2 separate regions of the Homo sapiens genome follow, and region 1 is linked to region 2. The links are contacts of gene promoters, found by promoter capture Hi-C in blood cells and fetal thymus (Javierre and others, 2016). All regions are on one chromosome and are shown on one strand. The core of a region is centred on a gene start or on the middle of the fragment in contact, and the rest is flanking DNA. Distances in the headings are between cores, read along the strand shown.

Region 1 (4,088 bases), core at 798-3,297, 8.4 Mb before region 2:
AAAATACATATTAAACATTTACTCAAGCATTTTATAGTTTTCATATTAAAGAGAGAAGAAAAATTTTAAATTTCTTATGTCTTGATAAGTATTTAAATTGTCAGATGATGTTTACATTAACTTTTTTTTCCCCTCTTAGGTTTTCTTCTGTTTTCATAGCCAGCCAGAACAATGTTCTACGCACATTTTGTTCTCAGTAAAAGAGGGCCTCTGGCCAAAATTTGGCTAGCGGCCCATTGGGATAAGAAGCTAACCAAAGCCCATGTGTTCGAGTGTAATTTAGAGAGCAGCGTGGAGAGTATCATCTCACCAAAGGTATGTTTGATGTTGACATTTTTATTCACTTTGTTGATTGTTTATTGATATGTGAAATAGAACTTCTAAAACAGTTTTTTTAGGTAGGGGCATTGGAGTGCAAGGAAAATCCTTAGAAATGTTTCTTTATTATGTGAAGTCCTTATCACCTCTAGATAGACTTGATATGATTACAGATTAGATTTTAAAAAAAATCTCTAAGTGCATATATTTTGATTTGCCTATTTTTAATGGCAAATAAGCATCAGTCAGGGCAATGCCCAAATATTGTTTACTGATCTGTTCCTCAGAGGAGCTTTTATTTGAGACCCTGTCTCAAAAAAAAAAAAAACCGACGTGGAAGTGCTGTAAATGCGTATTACTTAGTATAATAAGCCAATCTAAAAAGGCTACATATTATATGATTGCAGCTATAGGACACTCTGGAAAAGCCAAAACTATACAAATGAGACAGTAAAAAGATGGTAGGTTGGGGAGAGAATGGAGGGTTGAGTAGGCAGAGCACAGACTATTCTTTTTAGAGCAGTAAAACTGTTTTGCATGATAGTATAATAGTTAAATGCCATTTACATTTGTACAAACTAATAAAATGTATAACACCACGTGTGAACCCTGATGTAAACTACGGACTTTTGGTAATGATGTGTTAATATAAGTTTATCGATTTTAATAAATGAAACACCGATGGGAGGTGTCAATTGTGGGGAAGATTATCTGTGTGTGAGGAAGGGGGTGTTTATAAGAAATCTGTGCCTTTTCGTAAGTTTTGCTCTATTTCCTGGATGCAGCCTTCTAACAATCATTGTGTTAGTTTTTATGTATATACACAAAGAAAACTTGTGTACATGTACACAGGAAAGCCTAGAAGGCATACCAAAAGATTATTACAGATTTCTGTAGATGGTAGGATTACAGGTTGTTTTATTTTCTTTTTAAAGACTAGCCATTTAGTAAACATTTCTTGTTAAATGTTTGTTCACGCCCTTAAGTGTTTCTTAAGATTTATTTTTAGGATTATAATTGATAGGCCAAGTGATGGACATGTTTTTGAGATTTGTGATATGCACTAACAGTTTGTTCTGGTGAGATCATACCAGTTTGCACTGCTGGTCAAATTGTATGAGAACATTGGTATTTTCAATTTTTTTTATAGGTATGCTTACTGGGATAAGTTAATGGAAAACGTAGAAATCGTACTCCTTTCTGGAAAGTATATGTGTGGCTAATCTTTAACATCCGTAAGCAAATATTGAGTGGCTTAAAAGGATAACAGATTTTTTTCATGATATGTACCGAGTACTTTGTGCCACTTTAGGGACACTACAAACGAGTATGAGACAATCTGATAATTGAACATATACACGAACAGCCACAAAGGAAAGCAGACAGTTCAGGAATAATGTAAAAGATTGTAATGTGTTTATGAGAGAAAGTGATTTCTCTTCAAATTTTTTAAACCATTTCTAACTGAGCTTTTATCTATTTGGTAACAGGATGTAAAGATATTTCCACAGAGTGAACGGGCCTGAAATTTCTAATGTTTGCTTTGGTGTGCAGTTCTTGTTGTGAAAATGTCAGTTTAGTTGTTTAGCATAAGTGTCACACGTGGCTCATTTGCAACTGCAAGCTTGCATACTTTTTCTCTTCTCTCTTCCACTCCCCCACTGGAAGAACCACTGGCCCTATTTGCAGAGCTTTCCCAGAATATGTAGCCTGGAATCTTTATTATATTTATGTTTACACTTTAACACACACTAGCTCAAAAACATATGCCATACCTCATTTTACCTACTCCTAGGCTAAACTCTGAACCAGACTAATCCAGAAAGAAAGCTTTTGCCCAAACACCACTTTTTGAAAGTTGCTAGTTCTAGATAAGATAATAGCAGAGGTTTTTTTTCCCTCCTTTGTTCTTAGGTGAAGGTTCAATCAATATTAATTTTAAATTTTATAACACCACATAAAAATAGATTCTGTTTTTCCATTAGGAGCAACATTTTACTTTGAATTTTTTTAAAATTAGGGATTCATTGTCTGATAAATTCTGAATTTGATCACAAATTTGGTATAATTTTGGATGTCTAAAAATGTATGGCCATATACATCATCATTTATGCTGTAAGTCACATAAAATGCTCATAAATACAGAACCTGAGAGTCATAAGTAGGGTCCTAGAGTGCTGTAGAAAATACACATAAAATTTAAAATACAACATTTTCTTTTACAAATAACAATATACTAATCATAATTTAAACATTAAGCAAATGTTTAAAAGCTTTTTTTGTTACCTTAGAACTTGTTGTGCTTTATGGCGTGGTTTGGGAAAGTATCTGGGGATGTTTGAGTTCATATTGCCTTGTTCTTTCAGTAAATTTTCCTTATGGCTAGAGGAATTTTGAATACTTGTGTTTAGATGGAGTCTTATCTCATTGTTTTATCAACTACTGCTTTTCCACATACTGTATCCCATGTTAATGTTGATCAAGATCTGCCTCGAAAAAAGGTTGGGAGTATATTTTCTGGTGAAAAAAAGCTATGGATACTATTGTTCTTTATCAATTAGTATGCTTTCCAAACTTTTTTTTTTAAATCGGTATGCTTTCCAATTAATGGAAACTTAGTTAAAAAGTAGCTTAAACAATAAGGGAAATAACAGGCTTAATTAACTAAAATTTTGGAAACAGGGAGATCTGAGATTGGTCCAGCAGCTTGATTATGTCATCCAAGAACTCTCCATCCTTAGTGTGTTAGCTTCCTGTCCTCATACTTTAGCATTGTGGTTTACAGGGTGACTGCATGAAGCACCAAGCAAGCCCTACCTATTCACAAAGCAGGAAAGAGGGAAGGAAGAGAGGCGTTGTTCTTTTGGGGGGGAAATCTTTCTCAGAAACTCTCTGGCATACTTCACCTATTACTCAATTGGCTGAACTGTGTTTCATGCCCACTGAAGAACAGGTATTAGCAGAGAGGAATGAGACATCTGTCAATGTGGGGGACATTTGCTTCTCAAACAAAATCAGAATTGACTTAGCAAGAAACAATGGCCCTGGATTGGCAACCAAAAGTGTTACGTGCTCCTTAATGTGCTAATGACACAATTCATGGAATGGTTTAGTGCTTGCTTCCTAGCTTCCTTCATGTTTGTGTTAATTCGTGAATTTCCAGTCACTCTGTCTTTTCAGGATATTCGATATTCAGGGAATTTATAGGTAAGGACAGAGAAATGTATGTGATTATAAGGCAACTTTAAAGGAAAAAGATAAAAAGAAGACTATGAATGGCACGAAATGCAGGTTTTGGAATATGATTAATGTTTTATTCATAGGTGAAAATGGCATTACGGACATCAGGACATCTCTTACTGGGAGTAGTTCGAATCTATCACAGGAAAGCCAAATACCTTCTTGCAGACTGTAATGAAGCATTCATTAAGATAAAGATGGCTTTTCGGCCAGGTATTGTTAAACTTGTTTGGTTTTTGTTGTTGTTGTTTACTTTGGAGTTTCTCATGTTTTTTGTGTTACTGTAGCTAAACACATTTTCTAAATCTACATGCTTTGTTTTAATTGAAATACGAGGAACCCTTCAAAGATAGAGCAAGGCTTGGGGAGGCAGTGCTTCAAGGGAGGAAACCTACTTGCGTCTGTTCTCCCTGTGAAGTAATGGAGCTCACCCCCATTTGTTCTTCCTTTGGAGCTGCCTTTTTAATACTTTTTTCAGCAGCTTACATAGACTTGAGTCATCAAGAGGTTAAAATGTTGGAAACTAATTG
Region 2 (4,265 bases), core at 1,347-3,846:
TTCTTCATCACTCAACTAATATTTCCTAAATGCCTATGTGCCAGGCCTGATCTGGGCACTGAGGATAAAGAAAGAAAGAAAAAGATAAAGTTCCTATATACTCATAATGCTTAGAGTATAATAGGGTAAAAAGATGAAAATCCACATAACTTCAGATAGTGAAATTATACAAATAAAACTAAAAGACCATATGATAAAGTCAGGAGATTGGGAGAAAGGAGGAGCTTTTGGAAAGGGTGGTCAGAGAAGGCTTCTCTAAAAAGGTCATTTTCAAGCTAAGAGAAGAATGATACTAAAACCTGTATCTAAGATACTAAAGAAATTATTTCAACGCTAGAAAAATGGCTTATAATCTTTTCTGACAATGTGTTAGTGTTTATTATTAATCTCATTAACAATTCATTTAGTCATCAAATAATTACTGAGCTCCGCCCCCATGTGTCAGGCTCTAGGGAAGTGACAGTGAAGAAACAGGCCTGGTCCCTTTCATCTTAGGAGAGACAAAATTTTAAAACAAAACACAATTGGGTAAGTGCTTCAATAGTATTAGAATAGAATACATAATCGAAGGATTGCAGGTGTGTTTTGTTGCTTCATTTTATTGTTTGGGTTTTTTTTTTCAATTTTGGTGGGGGATGAGGAAAGGGAAGGGGGTAGTAGAGTGGTCAAGTAAGGCTTTTTTGTAGTAGGTGAGCTTTGTGGGGAATTGATAAATGATAAAGTTTAATGGGGGCAAGAGTGAGGCAAGGAGGGAAGAACACTCCCAGTGGAAGGACTAGCATGTGCCAGCTTTAAGAAGCAGCATGGCAATTTAGGGTATTCAACAAAGGCCAGCATAGGCAGCTCACAAAGTGAGAGGGAGAAGGGCTCAAGATAAAGCTGGAGACATGGGCAACCGCCAGATCATACAGAGGAAGGACATAATCATATTAGCACTAGCTAATAGTAACACATCCTTTTATATAGTACTTAACAGTTTACAAAGCACTTTAAAATGTTTTCTTTGTTCCTACAAATTTGTGTAGTAGTTATTATTTATTATTCCAAATTAATTACATCAATCCTCTTTAGAATGACCACAGGGTAAGGTCCAATTACTCAGTTAAATCACCTTGTCTGTTGGTAGTATACAGCTACTCGTCCCTCAGGATTTTATATATGCTACTATCATCTAGGAAACCTATAATGAACATACCTTCATAATAGCATTTTCTAAAAATTATGTAATATTTAAAACATTTTTTAAAAAGCATTAAAAATAACATCCATTTATCTACGACTCAGCTTACGGAAGATACCCTGACACAAGCCTTTTAAAACTGTGTGTTTACAGGTTTGTTTTCTCCATTAGATTGTGACTTCCTTGGAAGTGGGGACTGTGTGTTGACAGAGCCAAGATTTTGCAGTAAGAAATCAACACTGTTGTTTAATATAATGGAATCCCTCAATTCAGGTATAAATACTGAGATTCACAACGTGCTAGAGGCCATAAAGTCAATAAATCATTTAATTCAGTTCAAGTACAAAGAAATTTTGCTTTATTTGTAACGGATTTACAACTTTATAATAACTGATATATTTATTCACGATAAAACAGAAAATACAACTTTCGGTCCACATGTTTTCAGGTCATTATTAAAACATCCCAAGAAGGCATTCGTTAAGCAAATTAGCTACTGAAGTCTCCTGTATTATGTTAAATGCTGGGAATATGAATTCCAATTACACAAATTCCACGCCTTAATGAAACTCAAGTTTCTTAAGCACACAGAATTGATCCAAGGTTTGGCTGTTCCCAGATTTAAAGAACATATCCCACTCTAGATCAACTAAGGATAGGGAAAAGTGACCATCACACGTAAGCACTTACGTAGCCCAGAGTTAATTAGTTATTTTTCCCTTCAGAAAAGAAACTACTAGTAGGGAGTAAGAAAGAAGTTGTGTTGTGTGTGTAAATGTGTTTTGAGAAGGAGTGGGACAGAGACTAGACTAAAAGGAAAAGAAACTGGAAACCCGGGTTTAAGAAGAAAACTAAATGTAGAGTGGCATATGAGAATCACATTTGTTCACGCATCTTTTACACAGCTTTTCTGCACAGAGCTGTAATCCTTACACACCACTTAGTAAAGGGCCTTACAGGCCCTGTGTTTCTTGGCTCCAAAGAAGCTTCAGTAACCACCTATTCCGCCTCTTCCGCACCGCCCAGCAACCAGTTAGCGTGCGACAACCCCAGCCCCAAGTCCCTCCCGCCCGCCTCATAAATAAAAGCGGCCCCGGGACGCTGGACTGGCGCGGAGGAGGGCAGGTCAACCGAGGAGCAGACACCGTGGGAAACGCTGCAGAGTACGCGTCCGGGCCAAGGGAAGGGTCAGCCTCAGCCTCCACCTCAGCTTGGCCCGTACAGTGAGGGCTCTGGTACCAAAAAGACACCAGAGAACCCAGCTCCCCGAAAGCAGCGGGTACTCCCGAACGGCTTCCCAGCGCTTTTAGTCTTTCCGCACCCGCCCCCACCCGAAGTTACCTTCCCAAGTGACATCGTAAAGCTCTGAGACCTTCGCCATCTTCCCAGAACCTAGAGGCAGCGGGGTGAGAGGGCGGGGAGACGCAGTCACGTGACCCGCCACCGGGCGGTGGAGAGTTACGTAGCTTTTTCTCATTGGCCAAGAGAGCAGAGGGGGCGGTATCCGCCACGCACGTGCACGCGGCTCTGCGGAGGGGCTTTCGGGGAAGGGGGCGGAGCGAGCTGGGCGGAGCGAGCTGGACGGTGGACGGAGCTAGGTGGGCGGTGCGTGGCGCTCCCGCAATCTCAGGATACCCTGGCTGCTGGCGGGGCTACGGTGCTGGCTCGGGGTGAGGTGTGTGTGTGTGTTGACGTGGATTTTTAACAAATGCTGGGTTTTTAGTGTCCGTCAATCCTGGCTTTTCAGTTTTTTCTACCTAGGCTTGTTCATTCTCTTCACACTCCCTTAAGTACCCTTATTCTCTTCATGGCCGGCCGCAGTGCAGCCTTCTGCACGAATCCCTTATTTGTCCCCAACTTTCCTCCTTCCGTAATGGGATTTGCTTTCCGTTCACTTTTTAATCGACTAAACGGATAAACTCCAAAGTTTTGAGAGACTAAGTGGGATTCTTCCTTTGCGCTCTGAAGTTCCCTTGAATGCCCTCGCGCTAGCTTATACCCTTCATTAACGCTCGTCGTGCCTGTCATTGCTTCATCCATGTCTGCATGCCACACTAGGTTTCAAACTGTCGCGAGTATGTAAGTACTTATAAGGAATGAATGTACGAATGAGACCTTCACAGTTCCTGAACTTCGCTCCTCATTACTCCTGGGTGGATGGGGGAGCCTCCTTTCCCACCAGACTAATTGCTTTTAGGAAACTTTGGACGTCATCTCCTAGACTTAAGGAGAAATGTCTGGACAGGAAGTAAAAAATTTGAGGATGATAAGCGTATATTTAGTATTTGAAGCAATGGGGACATGAGATTGTAGAGGAAATATGTAAGCTGAGAAAAAACTAAAAATCACTGCAATGCAGCCGAAAGTTATTGGTCAGTAAAGAAGGGGCAGTTGATTTGAGAAGTAGAAATAATACTATCCCACAAGTCAAAAGAGTGGAGGGTTTTTTTTCTCAGCTTTATTGAGGTGTAATGGACAAAAATTGTGTATATTTAAGGTATACAAAGTAATGATTAGATGTAAATATACACTGTGAAATGATTACCACAAGCAAGCTAATTAACACATCTATCACCGTACATATTTCCTGTGTGTGTGTGTGTGTGTGTGTGTTGAGAACACTTAAAAATCTCTCAGCAAACTTCAAAGTATACAATACAGAATTATAACTGTAGTCACCATGCTGTACATTCGATCTCCAGAACATATTCATCTTACAACCAAAAGTTTGTACTATTTGACCAACATCTCTCCATTCCTCACCTGTCGGCTCCAGTCAACCGCAGAGGTTTTTTTGTTTGTTTGTTTAAAAAAAGGAAAAAAACCATCAAACCATAGACCCCAGAGAAGTCACTTAACAACAGAGAAGACTAGTGAATGTATATACTTGGATTCAATTCTGAATGAGCTGGCATTCTTTCTAAACAGACTTTTTAAAAATCTTTCATTCAAAAAGTTAAAAAATACTCAGAAATTCACATATTTTAATGCTCCAGTAAAGCAACCTGGTGCAATAGGAAGAACAAGAACTCCCAGATCTGAATCCAGGCTCTACCTTTCAGTAGCTGGGTGACTTTCAGCTTAT

What was found. The method cuts DNA at HindIII sites, captures the fragments that hold promoters and counts their contacts. A CHiCAGO score of 5 or more calls a contact.
Region 1: a fragment that was not itself captured here is called in contact with the fragment with the promoter of EMC2 in region 2 in 1 of 17 cell types (naive CD8 T cells); the score reaches 5.0 in naive CD8 T cells.

What each region holds. Positions count from the first base shown.
Region 1 is chr8:116,862,813-116,866,900 of GRCh38, reverse strand. RAD21 (RAD21 cohesin complex component) reads left to right here. Exons shown (of 14, transcript NM_006265.3): 2 at 140-315; 3 at 3,642-3,771. The coding sequence starts at 172. Among named protein-coding and RNA genes, the nearest start is that of RAD21-AS1, 9.6 kb to the left of the region's middle. The HindIII fragment of the contact is 206 bases long and covers 1,945-2,150 here.
Region 2 is chr8:108,441,955-108,446,219 of GRCh38, reverse strand. It overlaps EMC2 (ER membrane protein complex subunit 2), which reads right to left and starts at 2,596. Exons shown (of 11, transcript NM_014673.5): 1 at 2,522-2,596. The coding sequence starts at 2,561. It overlaps LOC105375704 (a long non-coding RNA gene), which reads left to right and starts at 2,748. Exons shown (of 3, transcript XR_928530.4): 1 at 2,748-2,850. RefSeq lists a silencer at 2,643-2,762. The HindIII fragment of the contact is 5,303 bases long and covers 2,169-4,265 here.